2 separate regions of the Homo sapiens genome follow, and region 1 is linked to region 2. The links are contacts of gene promoters, found by promoter capture Hi-C in blood cells and fetal thymus (Javierre and others, 2016). All regions are on one chromosome and are shown on one strand. The core of a region is centred on a gene start or on the middle of the fragment in contact, and the rest is flanking DNA. Distances in the headings are between cores, read along the strand shown. Region 1 holds the start of PWWP2B (PWWP domain containing 2B). Region 2 overlaps INPP5A (inositol polyphosphate-5-phosphatase A).

The links. Contacts are between HindIII fragments. The CHiCAGO score rates a contact against its expected background, and 5 or more counts as called.
Region 1: the fragment with the promoter of PWWP2B here is called in contact with a fragment that was not itself captured in region 2 in 6 of 17 cell types (total B cells, M0 macrophages, naive CD4 T cells and 3 more); the score reaches 7.7 in total B cells.

The regions. Positions count from the first base shown.
Region 1 is chr10:132,391,908-132,398,449 of GRCh38, forward strand. It overlaps PWWP2B (PWWP domain containing 2B), which reads left to right and starts at 5,293. Exons shown (of 3, transcript NM_138499.4): 1 at 5,293-5,444. The coding sequence starts at 5,320. LOC124902526 (a long non-coding RNA gene) reads right to left here and starts at 4,649. Exons shown (of 2, transcript XR_007062342.1): 1 at 2,754-4,649; 2 at 908-2,423. RefSeq lists enhancers at 3,211-3,734, 3,735-4,257, 5,828-6,350, 6,351-6,542 and silencers at 4,066-4,445, 4,466-4,895, 5,306-5,415, 5,426-5,565. The HindIII fragment of the contact is 15,859 bases long and covers 891-6,542 here.
Region 2 is chr10:132,657,403-132,663,862 of GRCh38, forward strand. All of the region lies in intron 4 of INPP5A (inositol polyphosphate-5-phosphatase A), which reads left to right. Among named protein-coding and RNA genes, the nearest start is that of INPP5A, 120 kb to the left of the region's middle. The HindIII fragment of the contact is 1,526 bases long and covers 1,359-2,884 here.

The DNA.
Region 1 (6,542 bases), core at 4,043-6,542, 260 kb before region 2:
CACTCACCTGCCTGGCTTCTTCCGCATCACGGGCCTCAGCCAGATACCAGCAGGGGCAGATTGCACACAGAGCATGTGGGCACAGGGTTTGCATCTCCTACCTGGCCCTGAGCATAGCACAAGGCCTCAGGTGTACCCGAGGATCCCACTGAGGGCCCAGCTATACAAGTATCATGAGAGTGGTGGTGGTGGTGATCATTTTGCTGGTGATAATGGTGATGGTGATATGGTGATGGCGGTGGTGGTGATGATGCTGATAGTAGTGGTGATGGTAGGTGTGATGGTGGTGATGGTGGTGGTGATAGTCATGGTGGTGATGGTGACAATGGTGGGGATGGTGGTGGTGGTGTGATGGTGATGATAGTGGAGATGGTGGTGGCAGTGACAGTGATAATGGTGATGGTGGTGTGATGGTGGTTGCAATGGTGATGGTGATAGTGATGGTGGTGGGGTGATACTGATGATAGTCATGGTGGTCATGATGGTGATGGTGATGGTGGTAGTAGTGATGGGGGAGGTGGGATGGTGATCATGATGATGATGGCAGTAGTGGTGATGGTGATGGTGGAGGTGGTGGTGGTGATAATGGTGATGGTGATGATGGTGATGTGATAATGGTGATGGTGATGGTAGTGGTGATGGGGGTGGTGGTAATGGTGATGATGGTGATGGTGATGATGGTGATGGTGGTGATGATGGTGATGGTGATGGTGATGATGGTGACGGTGGTGACAATGGTGATGGTGATGGTGGTGGTAGTGATGGGGGAGGTGGGATGGTAATGCTCATGGTGATGATGGCTGTAGCGGTGATGGTGGAGACTGTGGTGGTGATGGTGATGCTGATAATGACAAAAGTGTTGATGATGGTGATGGCAGCTAACTCATGGAAGCTTTACTGGGGCTTGTGCTGTACTAAGTATCTCATTTAATATTAACTCATTTAATATTCAGTACGAGGCTACACGGTAGGTACCATCATATTTCCCACTTTACAGATGAGGACACTGAGGCACAAGGGAGGTGGCAGTCTCCCCAAGGTCACATGGCAGGACTCTAGCAGTTTGGCCTCAGAGTTTATGTGCCTGCCCAGCTCTCTGCACCACCTCGAGTGGAGTCTTGGCAGGTTCTGTTCCCAGCCGGTCCTTTGAGATACTGCCTCAGGGGATGTGACCCTATATCATCCTGATAACCCAAGGGGCAGGGAGACAGCTCCAGAACAGACAAGACAAAGTTGGCCTTGTAGACCCACACTGCCCTCCAAGGGCTTCCAGACTGGAGCAGAACAAAACAAACACTGCCCAAAGGATCTGTGGCCTGCTAGAAGGTCGAGGGTTCCTGGCTCAGCATCTGCAAAGATTGCCTTGAGCCCCTGCCTCAGACGACACGACAAGGGACAAGGAGTGTGTTCCCCAGGCCGGCCTCCCTGCCAGACACCTTGGAGGAGGCCTGGCGTGCTCCTGCTCCCTAGTCTGTCCAGGCTTCTTGAGTGATGAATGGTTGCTTACTGAAATCAGAGCAGGCCCTCTGTATTAAAGGCTTTATCCTGTCTCCTGCCTTCCACAGCTGCTGTGGGCAAAAGGCTTGCCATGAGGCGACCTGGGTCCCAGCCTCAAGGCCCATCCCTGCCTTTGGCCTCTGGGCACCAGCTCTGGAGAAATCTGTGGTCTCTGACTCATGGCTGTGTCCTGCGAGGCCTCCATCTTGACCAGACACCTTCGATGCATCTCAGGAGCACCTCACTATGCTGCATGAGACTTGCACACAGCCAGGCCCTGGTGAGCTCCAGTAAGATCAAGCAAGCCCAGGTGTGTTGGGGGTTGGGGGGATACCAGGTGATTCTGGAGCAGGCTGGACACAGGCCAGGCTGTGGCTGCACCTCAGTCATGGGGAGGCCGCTGTAAGCCTCATCTCGTGGAAGAGACCAACAAAGGCTGAGAACCTGCTCACCACTGCCCTTCCCAAGTCTCAGTGATGATGTAGTGCGGTAGGACAGTGCTGGGCAGGTCCAGGTCCAGCAGTCAGGAGGGCCCTCTAAGCTCGGACCTGGGGGAGCGACCCTGAAAGACGAGGGGCGGGCATGGAGCTGGTGATGCAAGTGAGCCAGGCTGCCAGGGAGGACAAATCCTGGAGTTCCTCCAAGGACCGCAGGGGAGGCAGACCCTGAGGGGAGGTGGCCTGCGGGGTTCCTGCCTTCCTCCCCTGCTGTCTCAGGGGACATAGAGGCCAGCCCCTGCTTCCTCCTCCAGCCACCTGTCCCTCCCTCAACTGTACCCCTTCAGGCCACCCATCCTGCCAACTGCTGGTCACCCACCCCCAGCCCCGGTGGAAGTTCCGGACACTCTCCTGTCCCCTTGGCTTACCCCATCTGACTGGCTGGGCCGTCCCGAGCTGGGCATGTCCTAGGCCTTGCTGCGGCTGTGCCTACAGCCAGAGGACCAAAGGCTTTAGGACCTTTTGTTTGGATCAAGTCTCTTGAAGACAAAGTCTAAAGACCTCGGAGGTGTCTCTTCCCACTCTTGGCCTTTTCACCCCAGCCAGGGGCGTACTCCCGAGGCTCCTCTCCAGCCCAGCCAGGCAGCTCAGGGTCCTCTCACTGTGGGCAGCACCAGCCCCAGTACCCAGGGTGCTTCCCAGAACTGGGCAGACCTCACTGACTGGCATGAGCAGGGTGGCCTCTGGGGAGATGCTCAGAGCAGCAAGCCTAGGACAGCCTCCCAACCCCCGAATACAGGGTCAGACAGGAGGGGATACCTGGGCTGATGAGGTCCCCAAGGACACCTGCACTTTAATCGGGGACTCTGGAAACTCCCATGGCCTCTTCTTCAACAAGCAGGTTGGAGCGGGGCGGGAAGCAAGTGGGAGCAGGTGCGGGGGCAGGGCTGCTGGGGGAGGCCCTGAACAGCCACCGTTTAAGTTGCAAAAATGGTCTCCCTGTCTGCAGATGGTCTTTTTTATACCTTACCTAGTGGAGAGCAGGTTTTAAAAACGGCTTCCAAGTTCACTTAACAATACACAGTAAATAGCACGGGCCAGAGGGGAAGAGGCAGAGGGAAGGCGGGCAGGGCAGAGGGAAGGTGGGCAGGGCAGAGGGAAGGCGGGCAGGGCAGAGGGGCAGGAGGTACCATGGGCCAGCCGTGCTTCTCACTGCCCTCTTCCCCTCTCCAGCCAGAGCTGCCAGCTGCTGGGTGCATCTGTCTGGCCCTCTGTGCCCCGGAACCCTCTTCCCCTGTCCTGCCCGCCGCCACCCAGCCTTGGTTCCTCTCAAAGCCCAGCAAGTCCACAGGTGGGTCCCTCAGCACACCCCAAACTGTTCCTCCTGCTGGCGTGGGAAGTCACCAGGAGCCCCAGGCGCACGCAGACACCTTGCAGAGGATCCTGCCCACCCCCACCCCCACCTCGGAAGCCCTTGCTTTTGCCCACCTGGTGGGGCCCTGGTGAATGCTGGTGCTCCCCTGGACACTCTTTCTGGATCCCTCCACCCACATACAGCCCCCTGTGCATTAGCCCCACCCCATGCTGGCCCCACCAGCCTGAATGCTGATTCACCCTGGCAGTCCCCAATGCTCAGAAAGGGCAGTGCCCAGCAGGCCTCTCCAGCAGGCAGGAAGAAGAGCCAAGCAAGTGGGCAGCCTCAGGATGGCCGCTCAGCCCAACCTGGAGCAGGGTGGCGAGGGGGTCCCTGCTGCCTGGCATTTTTCCTCCAAAGTCAGCCCCACCCCTGGAGGGGGCAGCTGCAGAGGCCTGTGGGCAGGACAGCAGGCAGGCTCCACTGCAAGCCTGGCAACCAGTGGGCAGGGGCTGGCTGACCCTGGAGAACGGGGCGCCTTGAGGTGCCTGAGGCCCCAGGAAGGGCTTAGTGTTGGCGGGAGCCCCAGGCCACACAGAGGAGGACAGACACTCACTGGGCTTCCAGGCCTCCTCTGGGACTGTCCCCGGCCAGAACTCTGGCTCATTCGGCCTCGGTCCCTACCCCTGTTCTAGCCGGACGGTCAGGTGTCCCAGGCCCCGCGGGCTCCCTCACTCCGCCCTGGCTCCTCTCTGAGGCTCCCACTGCCGCGCGGCCGCCGGAGGGCGAGGTCGACAGGCGCCAGCGACCCGACGGTCCCCAGTGGCACCAGGGGCGGTGGTCCTCAATTCCCAGGCTGGGAGGAGCCCTGCCCGGCGGCGCTGGGTCGCCAGGACAACTACGCGGTCCCCCGCCCCGCCTCCAGGCCTCGTCAGGCGCTGCAAGTCCGGCTCAGAAGCCCGGCCCGGGGCCAAGGTCACCGCAGCAGGCCGGGCCCCTGCGTTCTGAGCCGGGTGCGGACGTGCTGGTGCTCGGGGAAGTCGGGGGCTTTGACGCCTGAAGGCGCGGGAGCCGGGCGCCTGGGGGAAGGGGGTCCGGCGCCGTCACCTCCCACTCCTCGCCCGCGGGTCGGGGAGCCCCTGCCGCGGGGGAAGGAGGCTGTTTCCTTTGTAAACTGGCGGAGGCGCGCCTGGCCCCTGGGCCCGGCAACCCGAAGAGACACGCCCGAGACCTCCGGAGGGAGTTAACCCCCCGGGCCCCGGTGCCGGCCACCCCCAGGCGCGCAGGGTGGCCCTGAGCCGGGCGCGCGCCCGCTTGTCGCCCCGAGAGGCGCCGAGCCCAGTGGGGCGACCCAGTGTCCCGCCCCCCACGCGGCGAGGGCGACACTAGGCCGCTGCCCCCGGGCGCCCCGCGTCCCCTCCGCCTGCCCCGGCTTCCTGCGCGCGCCGCCCGGGACTTCCTCGCCGCAGTGCCCGGGGCCACCAGAGCCCAGCGCGGGGCGCTGCCGGGACACGCGGGCGGCCGACCCCAGGCGGGAGGATCCGGGCCACCGGGGAGGGAGGGAGGGCGCAGGGCTGGGCCCGGAGGGGGAGGGGGGCCCGGGACCGGCCCCAGGCAGGGGAGCGGGGGGATGGGGTCCCGGGGCTCCGGCCGCGGCGGGTGTCCCCCCCGCCGCCCCCGGGCTCGTGGCTCTCGGGTCCTCCCGAGCCAGGGGACACTCCCGGCCAGCGTGGGCCGCGAGCCCGGGCGCAGCCCCCTCTCCAGCCCGGGGGTCCGCACCGCGCGTCCGGCCGACCTCTGCGGGCGGGCGCGGCTTCTCCCGGGACGCGGCGGCGGCGGGCGGGGTCCCCGGGAGCGGAGCCCGCGGCCGCGCGCCCCCGGCCCGGCTCGGCTCGGCTGTGGCGGCCGCCCCAGCGGAGCTTTGTGACGTCAGGCGGCCGCGGGGCGGCGTCACGCGCGGGGCTGACCCGGCGGCGGCGGCGGCGGCGGCGGCGGCGGCGGGGCGGGGGCGGCCTGGGACGCGGCGGGAGCATGGAGCCGCGCGCCGGCTGCCGGCTGCCGGTGCGGGTGGAGCAGGTCGTCAACGGCGCGCTGGTGGTCACGGTGAGCTGCGGCGAGCGGAGCTTCGCGGGGATCCTGCTGGACTGCACGAAAAAGTGAGCGGGGGCGCGGGCCGGGACACCCCCGGGGTCCCCACGCGACACCCGCCTCCGCCGCCCGGAGACCCGGGACCCGCCTCCGGGTTGGGGGTGGCGTGGCCCCGGCGCCCGCTTTCGGTTTCTGCCGAGCCTGAGTTTCGGGGCGCGCGAGCGCGGCCGCCACTCGGGGGGGCAAAAGTGGTTCTCAAAGTCGTCGCGACTTTTCGGGGCGGGCGCCGGGCCGGGGCGGGCCGGGGCGGGGGGCGCGGGGCCGGGGTCCCGGAACTCCACACATCTGCCATAATTAATGCACTTTTCTTTGTTCAGAGCCACTGTTGAATTCGACTGTTGGCAGAATTGTCGTTAAAGCAGGGGAGGGTCAGATGCGCCGTGGCCTTGCCCTGGCAGTTCCTCACAGGTGGGGGTGCCCTGTCGAAGGCCACGGGCCCCTGGCTGCTGGGAGTGACTCCGCGGCTGAGGTTTGGATTCGGGGAGAGCAGTTGCGCCCAGCTGTGCGATTTAAGAACAGTTTCAGGCCAGGGAGCCCTGAGTCATGGGGGCGTGAAGAGGTACAAGCTGTGGGAGCCGTGGGCACATCCCCCGGGAGCCCTGGCTTCCTGGGTGGGGGGCGCAGGGCAGGGCGGGGCGGTTCCTCCTGAGAGGCACCTGTGCACGGGCTGCAGGGACCCATGCGGTGCAGATGAGCCTCCTGGACACCGCGTCACATGGCAGGGAGCTGTCGCTGCCAGATCAATGATTAGGCATGAATCAGGCTGTGGCCTCGCTGCGCTCCTGCAGGGCTTTCTTTTGAAACTGGGAGCAGGGAAAGGCTCCTCTTGTAAAGGCCCAACTTTTTCCATCCGTGGAGCCCAGATTTTTGCCTGGTGACATGAATTAGCAGAGAGGACCGTGTTCCTTCCACAATTATTTCGCAGACGTTATCTCTTCATTAGATGTGCCAGAAGCCATTTATCCACAAGTCACGTGATTTAACATATGGCTCCCGTGTGGTTCCTGCCCGCTCCGTGTGGGCTACCGCTGGGAGTGCACGGGCAGGATGGAGGGACACTCGGGGGGTGAGAATCGCCACCTGGGAGCTGCCATCCCCTCCACCAT
Region 2 (6,460 bases), core at 872-3,371:
CTCCCCCGCGGCTGGGTCTGTGGAGAGTGAAGTGGGGCACAGATGCCCTTTGCAAGTGCTGTGCACGGCAGCTCACAGCCCCCACCCCCAGCTCTGTAGTCTGTAAGAGGCAGGCTCTCGGCATGGCCCCCAGGCAGTGGCCCTGGTGCTCTTGGGGTGGGGGGCCCCAGTACCCAGCGGTGGCCCAGGAATGAGAGGCCCGCTGCTTCCTGGGAGAGGCCCTTCTGCTTTCCCTCCTCCTCCTCTGTGAGCTCCCCCTTCCACTCTCGTTCTCCTAAATAAGACTTTAGGGAGAATTTATGGAAAATTGATGGAGTTTACGGATGTTCTTTGATCCAGAGAAGGGGAAGGAAAGGCAAACGCGTTTATGATGAGGAAGCTCATCTGCCTTAGGGCTCCAGCCCTGCCCTGGGGCTCGCTGCCTCCTCACCTGCCTGGGGGCAAGACAGTCCTGATGAAGTGAGAGGGGGCGAGATTGGTTTTCTGAGGGCACCGGGCCCTTCATGCTCCCCTAAATCACGGGCTGTCTCCTCAGCGGGCAGGTAATGACCTGCTCCCCGGCCCCAGCACCTGCAGTCCCGTGGGACGCGATGATGTGCGGCTGGGGCTGCAGTGAAGGTGAAACTGTCATATCGATCTTTTTAGCACTAAAATATGAGCCACTTTACTCCGCTCCCCGCTGCTGTGATGTGAAAAATAATAACTCGGATCCAAATTAAAAATATTGATCTCTGGAAGGTGTTGAAAGTAAATAAACACCTTCCGAAGTTTTTGGGTCAGCCGAGAAATGGTATTCAGCAATAAATGTGTCAGAGTCCAGGGTTCTTGATCTGTTTTTTCTTTGAATTGATTTTTCATTATTTACTTCCTAAAAGTGTTGGAATTTGGTCCTCCACTGTGAAATCCCAGTGTTTGGGCACATTATTTCTTTGGGGCTTATGAGGTGCTCCTAATCCACTCCCTTATTGATGGATTGATGTTTGACTCCATAAGCCTGCTTTATTTAGGACCTTCCATCATAATTTTTTGTACATTTAGGCTTGACTCTTTTATTTCCTTCTAACAGATGAGCTGACATTGGGCTATCAAACGGGTGGGAAAACAATTGCCATGAGGTTAATTTCATGGTCGGCTCCGTGCGTTCTGAGCAGACGGGTGTTTCCTGGCTGCAGGCCGGGCCTTGGATGCAGCCTTGACGCGTGTCGATCTGTTTACACACAGGGCTGAGTCCGCCGGCCCCCCGGGGGTGCTCATGGGTGCCCGGGTGTCTGCAAGCTGCCCGCAGCTGGGTGGTCTCTGGGCACGGATGCTCTAGGCCCTCTGGGCTCCAAGGAGGCTGGGTTGTATGTCTCTTGAGAAGCTTTCCTTTCGAAAGGCCACCAAGACCACCGAGACTGCTGAGACCGCCAAAGCCACCAAGACCGCCGAGACTGCCAAGACCACCAAGGCCGCCGGCTGCTCCCGGTGGCTCCATGCACCCGGCAGGAGAGTGGAAGGCGTCGGGCCTGGGGCAGTTTGAAAAGATAGGTGCCGCCAGCATCTGCGCTTCCTCGTGGGTGCTCAACAGGCTGCCTGGGAAGCTCCTTCTGCCATCACCTGGAGTCAGCTGCCGTCCACAGTGGAAGCTGCCAGCCACCAAGGCTACCGACCTGGGCCCTGGGGATGAGCAGCCCAGGAGGCGAAGATGCCTAGGTGGGTCCCCAGCTCTGCAGGTGCCACTCCCCACGCCAGTGTTCTCCAAACTTCCGGGGAGACCTGTCTGTGCTCCTGTAGGTGTCAGGCAGACTCAGAGGCACAGGGGTTCAGATTGAGGCCTGGGGCTGAGGAAGCAGGAAGTCCTGTCAGGAGCTGGAGCACTGAGAAAGGCACCTTGCTGAGAGCAGCCTTGGAAGGGTCCAGAACTGGAAAGATGGAGAGCTGCCATTGGCCCGTAGCTCTGGGGCTGGTCCTGGCCATCTAGCCATGGGACCATGGGCAGAGGGTTCCCTAGCTCTGGGTGAGGCGGGAGTGGTGGGCAGTGCTGGCCATGAGGTCCCTGTGGGGTGCATCCACGGACGCGGGTCTGGAGGCGCTGCTGTCTAAGCTGAGGCTTTTGAAGGATGACCGTGCCCAGGTTATCCAGTGTTCCTTCTCAGCGAGCAGCTCCCATGGCAGTCCATTCATTCAACATGCCCTGGTCCAGCTGCTGCACAGCCATGGGTATTCTGTGCTGAGCGCCGTGGCTGATGCACACCCACCGTCCCCTGCAGAGGAGACCTCTGCACGCAGGCCCACAGCAAGGGCCGGATCAGGAGAACAACCCACTTGGCAGGCGGCAACCTTGCCTGGCACTCACCAGGGCCTCCTCCCCAGCACTGTCCCGAGTCAGGTCTGCACGGCTTCATGGCTGCCTGCCCTGGGAGGTGGAGCATGGAGAAGGCCAGTGCCTCATCACAGAGCCAGATGCCCACAACAGGATCCAGTGCTGTCAGCTGGGCTCCAGAAACCTGAGGACATGCAGCCTGCAGCTCCTGACACATGACATGTGACATACAACACATGACACGCGGCATACTCCCTGTGACATGGCACATGACACGTGACACAACACATTCTCATGCTCCGCCGACGCGTGACCCACGGCACGTTCCCGCGCTCCGCCGACGCGTGGCCCACGGCACGTTCTGACGTCTGCCAATGCGTGACACACGGCACATTATAATGATGTAAATATTGATTATTGATTTAAGTGAAAATATTGAGAGGGTGGGGGTGAGAGATGGAGTGTGTGTGTGATATTGAGTGACGGGGAAAGATAGTAGAAAGTAGTTAAATCCTCTTCTTCCAGCATGGAAAAATTGAAAAATCAATGTTGAAAACTGGAAAATCAAGAAGTGGCAATATAAGCTTTAGAGGTATGGAGATAAATACCAAAAGAAAACAATCAAAAGAAAATAATTGCCTCTGGGAACTAGAAGACTGAAGTGGACAGGAGCTACTGTTTTCATAGTGTGCCTTGCAGAACTCGTGTGTGTGTGTGTTACTAGCTTTTAAAAAACAAAATTCCAGGAAACTTCTTAGGAGGAAGAGACTCCTTCTGTTGATGGTGACATCAAACAAGACCTGCAGGAGGAGGTAGCACTGACAAGAAGGTGGTGTGCCAGTTTGTGATCTGGTGCGGTGAGGCACCTGTGTCAGCAACAGGTGGGAGTGGCTCTGGTGTCTGAGCAGAGGCTCTGGTGTCTGAGCAGAGGCTGTCTGGATGCCATTCACGGTGAGAGAAGAGCCTAGAATCTTGACTGTCCTTTGAGTATCAGGTAAAGAAATTTGAATGTGATTAGGTAGTCAGTGGGGACCATTACAGAGTTCAGGGAGAGAGGTGAGGCAGTCAGAACTGGGGGAAGATGGAGAAGGGACAAGTGTGTTGTTTCAAACGTAGAGTCCTCTGATATCTACCTTTTAAATTCTTATTGAAGTAAATGCACAGAGAGGACCAGAAGTGGTGATCCATATTGGTGCACATTTATTTTTTTGACTCTGATTCCTTTAAGCCTAAAACTAGGGCAGTGTCCCATACTGAGCACTAAAGAGAAGTAGGGTCAAACCCAGGAGGGAGGAAAACCAGATCCCTGCACCTTGGCCAAGATGAGGATGCCGGATGGAGCATAGCCAGTCCTGGAATGAGGCCTGCATCTCTCCCTTGCACAATGCCCCCACCCACAATCCAGCCAGGTCTCTCTGTGTCCCCAGCTGCATGCTCCCACCTCTTCGTGATATGGTTTCAAAAACACAATCCAGCACCATGTGTAAATTGTTTGATGCTTGAGATCAACTTTACTGAATTGCCTACATTGAAAGTGATGAGGACAATACCTCCTTCAGGAAGAAAAAGGCAAAATGAAGTGCTTTCATGAATAGTCAGAAGGGTCTTACTAACATAAAAATATTTTGATTATGTCTTCAGAATCTCTTTATGTAGTTAGTGGCTTGTAAGCTGTCAACTTGTAAATGATGCCGTTGGAAATTGAAATGTAAATAACATTACCATTTATAATAGCATCAAAAATATGAAATATTTAGGAATAAATTAGGTCAAGATGTGTAAGACCTGTATACTGAGAACTATGATATATTGCTCAGAGAAATTAAATAAGATCTAAATAAATGGAGAGATATACTATGTTCATGGATCAGAAGACTCAATCTTGTTAAGATGTCATTTCTCCCCAAATTGATGTAAAGATTCAGTGCATTACTAATCAAAATCTGAGCAGACTTTTTTTTTTGGTAGAAATTAAGCTGGTTCTAAAATGTATATGTAAATGTAAAGGAATTAGAATGGGCCAAAACAACTTTGAACATGAATAAAGATGGAGTCCTTATACTACCTGATTAAGACTTCTTTGAATCTCAATAATTAAATCAGTATAGTATTGGCATAAAACCAGATAAACAGATCACAGAACATTATGGAGAGTCTAGAAAGTGGCCCACTATTGATCTTTGTCAGAGGTATCAGTGGACTTCAGCAGTGAGTGAATGATCTTTTCCACAAAGGGTGCTGTAGCAATTAGAGGGCCGTTTGCAAAAAACTCACTTCAATTGTTACTTGAAACCACATGAAAATTTAGCTTGAACTGGATCATAGACCTAGCGTAAGAGCTAGAACCATGCAGCTTCCACAAGATCACACAGGACTTCTTTCTTTAAATATGACACCAAAAGCAGAAACCACTATAAGAGGAAACCAGTCAGTTGGACCTATGAAGACGACCGTGGCAAGCGCTGGGGAGGCGGTGGTAGCACTGCAGCCGTCGTGTTAGTGCTGGAAATGTAAAACATGCGAAAACATGGAGGTCTTAAAAAAAACGTTGAAAATACACACACCGTATCACCCAGCCGTTTCCCTCTTCAGTATTTACTTAAGAGAAATGAAAGCACATTCCACACTAAGACTGAATGTTCATAGCAGCTTTATTCAGAATAGCCAAAACCTGTCAACAGCCCAGATAGCCACAGCAGGTGAGTGGGAACAGGAGGGGACAGTCTGTGTACACCGTGGTGTGTCAGCTGTCGCAGTAATTATGGTGGGCAAAAGAATCCAGACCAAACCAAAAATGCATTCTGTATGATTTCATGTATATCATATTCTTAAAAATGCAAACAAGTCTGTAATGACAGAACACAGATAGTGGTTTCCCGGGGAAGGGGTTGTGGTGGGGGCTGGAGGGATTCCAGTGAGCACTAAGGAGAAGCCAGGTCAAGCCCAGGAGGGGAGCACGGTAGATCCCCGCACCTTGGCCGAGGTGAGGATGCTGGACGGAAGGCAGCTGTCCCTTCCACACTGCCCACCCCACCCGCACTCCAGCCTGGCCGCTCTCTGCTCCCACCCTTTCATGCTGTAGTTTAGCAAACACAATCCAGAGCCAAGTGTAAATTGTGTCAAGGGGCGAAGGGACCCAGGGAACCTTCTGGAGCGACGGGCATGTTAGTCTCCTAATTGTGGTGATGGTTTCACGTGTGGATGTGTCAGGACTCATCCAGTTACACGTCACATGGGTGCAATTCTGTCAGTGCCACTTACACGTACCTTAGCACTCTAGAAGGAAAATCTAGTCTTGTGGTGGATGGCTTGTGAGGGGTCAAACTGCAGATTTAATGGAAAAGGGAAGTACTTCCATCAGCAGCTGGCCCCTCGAACGGACTGTGCACACCACTGTGTGTCTCACAACTCAGGCAACTCGGCACGCCGCAGGACATAACGGCAGAGTGTGAGTAATTTTCCATTTTATATACACATATGCGTATGTTATATAAAATTGAAAAGACTTTCTTCTCGTTAAATCTTATTTTATTTTGACACAGGATGTCACTCTGTTGCCCAGGCTGGAGTGCAGTAGTGCAATCGTGGCTTACTGCAGCCTTGAACTCCTGAGCTCAAGTGATCCTGTGGCCTCAGCCTCCCAAGTAGCTGAGGATACAGGTGTGCATCACCACGCCTGGCTAAAAAAAAACTGTTTATAGAGACTGGGTGTCACCGTGTTGCCCAGTCAGGTCTCCAACTCCTGGCCTCAAGTGATCCTCTTGCCTTGGCCTCTCAAAGTGCTGGGATTACAGGTGCGAACCACTGTGCCCTGCCAAAAAGACATTTTTAAGGTTAAGTAAGGCTTTGTTGATTTTGAATGTAACATTATTCCCACTCAATGAGTGATTTTGGTCGACGTTCACCTGTACTTTCTCTGCACTCTGAGCCGGCAGGTGCCACTTCTAGCTTCTGGCTGGGGTTGGTTTGCAGTGGAGTCTGTGCCTGTGGCAGCCGTCTGCATGACTTTGGGTCATTGCGCTTTCCTTGCCTTTTGGGGAGGGTCCCTGGTGCTCTGTGAGCAGATTCGCCCCTAGGGGTGAAGTCATCTCGCTCCTCTTCTGAGCCGTGAGCTGGGCAGGGCCGCGCTCACATCATTCCTCTCCCCCTGTCGCCGGG